2 separate regions of the Homo sapiens genome follow, and region 2 is linked to region 1. The links are contacts of gene promoters, found by promoter capture Hi-C in human tissues and cell types (Jung and others, 2019). All regions are on one chromosome and are shown on one strand. Each heading gives the region's core, a stretch centred on a gene start or on the middle of the fragment in contact. The rest is flanking DNA. Distances are from core to core; before and after follow the strand shown. Region 1 holds the start of FKBP4 (FKBP prolyl isomerase 4). Region 2 has its middle 18 kb from the start of TSPAN9.

What was found. The method cuts DNA at HindIII sites, captures the fragments that hold promoters and counts their contacts. A contact is called where the count stands out against the background at its distance.
Region 2: a fragment that was not itself captured here is called in contact with the fragment with the promoter of FKBP4 in region 1 in 1 of the 25 tissues and cell types used here (dorsolateral prefrontal cortex).

What each region holds. Positions count from the first base shown.
Region 1 is chr12:2,793,442-2,796,342 of GRCh38, reverse strand. FKBP4 (FKBP prolyl isomerase 4) reads right to left here and starts at 1,373. Exons shown (of 10, transcript NM_002014.4): 1 at 1,099-1,373. The coding sequence starts at 1,203. The region is part of intron 2 of ITFG2-AS1 (ITFG2 antisense RNA 1); the gene reads left to right. RefSeq lists silencers at 325-734, 1,085-1,144, 1,175-1,554 and enhancers at 1,404-1,948, 1,949-2,494. The HindIII fragment of the contact is 5,309 bases long and covers 1-2,901 here.
Region 2 is chr12:3,057,853-3,060,701 of GRCh38, reverse strand. No RefSeq gene overlaps it. Among named protein-coding and RNA genes, the nearest start is that of TSPAN9, 18 kb to the left of the region's middle. The HindIII fragment of the contact is 4,152 bases long and covers 1-2,849 here.

The DNA.
Region 1 (2,901 bases), core at 124-2,623:
GCAGGACGCTGGAGCGAGAAGGGGAAGTCACATGCCACAGGAGAGCCGCTGGAGCAGACGCTTGAGGTCCCCAATAATCTGGTGCAAAGACAGATGCACTTCTGGACCAGGTAAAGGCCCCCTGAGGTGGGTGCCGCACACGCGGAGCTCAGCGGTGGGAAGCCAGGATGAGGACGCAGCAGCGGATGGGGAGAAGGCATAAGACGCAGGCTGGGAATTCACCATCTCTGATTCTCCCTGGAACCTGCTCCGACCCAAGGCAGGTTGTCCTGGCCCAGGTCAAGATGCCCTCCCCGCAGCTCCCCAGGCTATTTGTAGTCGAGCGGTCACTCGGCGGCAGGCTCCACAGCAGAGCGCCTCCTCCCCGCCCCACACCCCGCAGCCCTGGCTCCGGGAGGCGGCGGAGGGGGGAGGGGACTACAGCTCCCGGCATGCCCCGCGCCCGGCCTCCCCGGGGCCGAGGGAGGGGGCGCCGCGCGGCGAGTGGGGACCTCGCTGGGTCCCGGCGTCGGCAGGGGACCCCGGGAGGGCGCCGGAACCCTGTCGCGCCTGCGTCGCACAAAGGCCGAAGGGCCAGGAAAGCACTGTGGGGAGTCGCTCCCCGTCCTGGCCCGTGTTCCACCGCCCGGGTGGGCGAGCCCTGGCACCGCCACCAACGAGGCGGCCCGCGGCTGGCAGCTCCGCTGGGGCCGCGAGGTCGGGGGCGGCGTGGCGTGGGAGGCCCGGCCTGGCCCCGGGCTGCGGCTCGGGTGCCCGCGGCGGTCGCCTCGCCCCGCCCCTCTCCGCCGCCCCGCGCGCGCCGGGGTGGGCACTGCAATCCCGACCCCCTGCCCGGGCCCGGGCGCTGCCGGCTGGGGAGCCTGGGGCCTCGGCCCGCGCACCTAGGCCGCCCCCCTGCCGAGCGCATGGCCGGCCTCGGTGCCTTAAACGACGCAGCCCGGTCCGGGACGGCGATGCCACCGGCCCCCGGCGGGACGGCCGCGAGGCTGCAAAGGCGGCCGCCTCGACCCGTGCCCGGCCGCGGGCTCCGGGCGCGGCGGAAGGGCGGCCCGCGGGGCCCCGGGTTCCGACGCCTCCGCAGGCCCCGCCGCCCCTCACCTTCAGCACGCCTTCGTCCTGTTTGGGGCTGATGTCCACTCCCTCCATGGGCAGCGGCGCCGACTGCGCCCCGCTCTCGGTCGCCTTCATCTCCTCGGCTGTCATCTCCGCGCGGCGCGCCGTTTATCCGGGAGCTGGTGCCGGCGCGAGCGCACTCTGGGCCGCGGGCGGGGGCGCTACCTGCGGGGCGTGCGGGAGGCCGGGCGCGGCGGCACTGACTGCGGACCGCGAGGAGGCTTGAGCACCTCTGCACGCGGCGCGAGAGCTGGGGTAGGTGGGTCAGGAGCGGCTCGGGGAGCGATTGGTCCCGCCCCGCCGCGAGGGAGGGGCTGGGAGGAGCGGGAGCGCAGACAGAGGGGGCGGGGTGCAGAACTTTCTAGAGACGGCGGGACTGAGCCGGTTCGGGCTCAGTGCTGCGGGCGCTTCGGAATTTTTTTTTCTTTTTTTTTTTTTGGTTCTTGCCTCCTTCTGGCTGCCTGCCCCCTCCCCCTTCTCCTGGGACCCTCGGACTCGGGATCTCCCCGGCGGCCTCCCTTGGCCCTTCCTCCCTCCCTCCCATCCCCGCCCGCTTCCCTGTCTAACCGGATTCTTCCAGATTCTTCTCGATCGATCTCCCGACATCACTCCACCAGTCCGCTGCGCCTGCGGCGGGGTGTGGGGAGCGCAGGCTGCGGGATGGCAGTGGCGGCGCCCCCTCCCCGGGACCGGCCGTCACCACGGGCGGCGTGGCCTCTCTGCTATGACCCGCGTAGACCCTTCCCTACTTGGGGGAAAGAGGGCAAGGGCGTGCGCGGGGAGCGGGGAGTGAGTGGACAGCGCTGCCCCGCTGCAGAGAGCCGGGGAAAGCGACCTCGATTTCCCCAGATCCGAGAAGCCCCGGCCAGGCAGCGATGCCTCGCTCAGCGCCTGCAGATGCTGCGAGCAGCGGGGTTGGCAAGGCATGGCCCGCCCAGCTCGGAACTCAGATGGGGCACACACTCAGGGGACCCTTCCCGGCGGTAATAAAACTGCCGTTTCCGCGAATGCTTACAAAGATGGGTTCCCCTCACGAAAAAAGTCACTCGGTTTTCCTAAAGGCCCACAGAAGGAGTATTTTCTTCTCAATGTTTGCTTCCCGAGTGTTTTTCGACAGGCTGTGGAGCGCGCAGGTGCCGGTGTCACCTAAGCTATGGTCGTGGGACCTAGAGAGCCATCTAGAGAGGGGCCTGGTTTTGCTCAGCACCTAACCCCAGTTTAGCATAGTGCCTGGTGAGTGATGTCCCAATAGTTACTGGCTGCATGAATTTTCCTTTTTTAAATTTCTTTTTCCAAGTCTTGGCTGATTTTTTTTTCTTTTTTTTTTTTTTTTGAGACAGGGTCTTGCTCTGTCGCCCAGGCTGCAGTGCGGTGGTGCGATCTTGGCTCTCTGTAGCCGGGACTACAGGCGTCCGCCACCACGCCGACTAATTTTTGTATTTTTAGTAGAGACGGGGTTTCGCCATGTTGCCCAGGCTGGTCTCGAACATCTGGTCTCAAATGATCCGCCCGCCTCGGCCTCCCAAAGTTCTCGGATTACAGGCGTGAGCCACTGCGCCCAGCCTGAATTTTTATTCCAATAATAACTGTATTTTTGGACTTCCCGTTATGTGCCCGGCACTGTGCGATTGGACGCCATTAGTCTCATCAAACTAAATTGAAAGCTTTTTAGAGATGAACTTTCAGCGTCATAATGTGATGATTTATTGTAGTCCCTGCCGACGGAACTTGAAAGGGATGCAGAAGAAAAAGCCCTTCGCTTCAGCAATTTACAGCCCAAATGAGTTG
Region 2 (2,849 bases), core at 59-2,558, 260 kb before region 1:
TGTAATCCCAGCACTTTGGGAGGCCGAGACAGGTGGATCACCTGAGGTCAGGATTTCGAGACCAGCCTGGCCAACATGGTGAAACCCCATCTCTACTAAAAATACAAAAAAATTAGCCAGCCATGGTGGCAGGAGCCTGTAATCCCAGCTATTCGGGAGGCTGAGGCAGGAGAATTGCTTGAACCTGGGAGGCGAAGGTTGTGGTGAGCCGAGATCGCGCCATTGCACTCCAGCCTGGGTGACAGAGCAAGACTGTCTCAAAAAAAAAAAAAAGAATAAAAATTGTTAAAAAGGTTAACTTTGTTAGATGCATGTTAATTATATTTCCTCCGGAAGCTCTCTGAAGAGCAGGTCGCAGAGACCGTCTGAGAGGAGCCCTGAAGATAACAGGGAGAAACAATGAGAAAATGACATCCCCGATCTCCAGTACCAAACGCAGGGAAGAGTCAGAAGGCGTGATTGCTCCTGGACAGCAGGAACCCATGCCGATGGTTTGAAATTGAAATCAAAGTCTCATGAATTCAATAGAGTTGGGTGAAATGAAATTGTGTGACTGTCAATAAATGACCAGAGGATGATGGTTGATAAGACACACAAGGAGTATAAAAGTGAAGATGGCACATTTGAAGCCCTTGCCAGGGTGTCTGGGATCTAAGTAGGTATACATCCATTTATGACATTAAAAAGTTCATTAATGTTTTAATTGGAATACACATATGGGGGGAAGGAGGTAGAAAAAAATATATATATATAGTTGTTTTTATAAAAGAAGAATAAGCTGGAAGTTTAAAAGGGGAGAAAAAAATGAAAACCTTTTATAACAGGGTGTATTTTTTTAAAGGACTTAGAGTTGGAGTTGAATTGGACACATCAGCACGAACTCATTTCCCAGCTCCCACTGGAGTGCACTAGAAGCAGACGCCTGCCTTTAGTTCTCACACGGATAATGTGATTCGCACCATGAGCGCCCAGACATAACATTCAACTGATAACATTTGCCACTCAAAGAAACAGGGCTCCTTGGGGAATAGCTGATTCCATACCTTGGTGCAAGAAAAATCAGAGTTGGCCTGAGCAGACTTTGCTAGAAGTATGTAAGTTAAAAAACAAAAATGTTTAAGGTAGTGTTAAAAGGAAAAAGGACGCAGCATAAAAAGTCAAAGCTGGGCCGGGTGCGGTGGCTCACACCTGTAATCCCAGCACTTTTGGGAGGCCAAGGCGGGCGGATCACGAGGTCAGGAGATCGAAACCATCCTGGCTAACACGGTGAAACCCCATCTCTACTAAAAGTACAAAAAAATTAGCCGGGTGTGGTGGCGGGCGCCTGTAGTCCCAGCTACTCGGGAGGCTGAGGCAGGAGAATGGCGTGAACCCAGGAGGCAGAGCTTGCAGTGAGCCGAGATGGCGCCACTGCACTCCAGCCTGGGCGACAGTGCAAGACTCCGTCTCAAAAAAAAAAAAAAAAAAAGAAAGAAAAAAAGTCAAAGCCAGCCAGGCACGGTGGCTCATGCCTGTGATCCCCACTCTTTGGGAGGCTGAGGCAGGAGAGTCACTGGAGGCCAGGAATTCAAGACCAGCCTGGACAACATAACGAGACCCCACATCTACAAAAAATAAAAAAATTAGCTGGGTGTGGTGGCGCGTACCTGTAGTCCCAGCTACTTGGGAAGCCGAAGTGGAAGGATCCCTTGAGCCCAGGTGTTCAAGGCTGCAGTGACATTGTCTCTAAAAAGAAAAGAAAAGAAAGGAAAAAAAGGCAAAACTGTGATCATCTGATTATCAAAAAGAAAACAAAAATGTAGTGAAAAGCTTGAGTCCATAATGGTACTGGATATGGGTTATACTAAAAGTATATGTGAGCTCCTGAAAATGTCAACTGGTTTTTGGTTGTTTTTGTTTTGCCAAAGCCAATTGTTCTGAAGTGTCCACTTTTAAAACACTGTGCATACCATAGCCAAGTTTTGATTCATAATTAAGCTATGAATTTCTTGTACTTTTTTTTTTTTCTTTTGAGACAGAGTCTGGCTCTGTCGCCCAAGTTGGAGTGCAGTGGCGCGATCTCGGCTCACTGCAAGCTCCGCCTCCCAGGTTCACGCCATTCTCCTGCCTCAGCCTCCCGAGTAGCTGGGACTACAGGCGCCCGCCACCACGCCCGGATAATTTTTTGTATTTTTAGTAGAGACGGGGTTTCACCGTGTTAGCCAGGATGGTCTCGATCTCCTGACCTCGTGATCCGCCCGCCTTGGCCTCCCAAAGTGCTGGGATTACAGGCGTGAGCCACCGCTCCCAGCCCGAATTTCTTGTACTTATGTATTTATATCAGGTAATGAGATTTAAAGGACACTCAGGGATGAAAGATGCACTGAGTTATTTAAAAACAAAAAACAAAACAAAACAAAACAGTGAGAGTTCTATGAATCTTGTTAATTCGGCAGGAAAAACTTGACCAAAGGAAGCCACCCACACTGATAATTGCCAGCCTGGGAGAAATGACTGTAGAAGGCACATCCAGGCCCCACTCCCAGACCCAGTGCCCAGGCTCCAAGCATCTCTCCATACTGGAACAGCACGGCAGCTCCAAATCTGGAACTCATACCCCGATCTGTAACCGTACCTCAGACCTACATCTTCAACTGATTTCAGCCCAACTGTGAGGCTAATTCTGCTTTCTTTCTTTGGATAGAGGCTTAAAAATAAATATAAAGAAGATGATGGACACGAACGTACATTAATACTCTTGTAATACCTTTAAGGAGTAACTACTTTAATAGCTTTAGGTAATAACTACTGCAAACACTGGGATGATTTGGGTTTTATCTGCTTTTAGTTGAGGTAAAATTCACGTAACA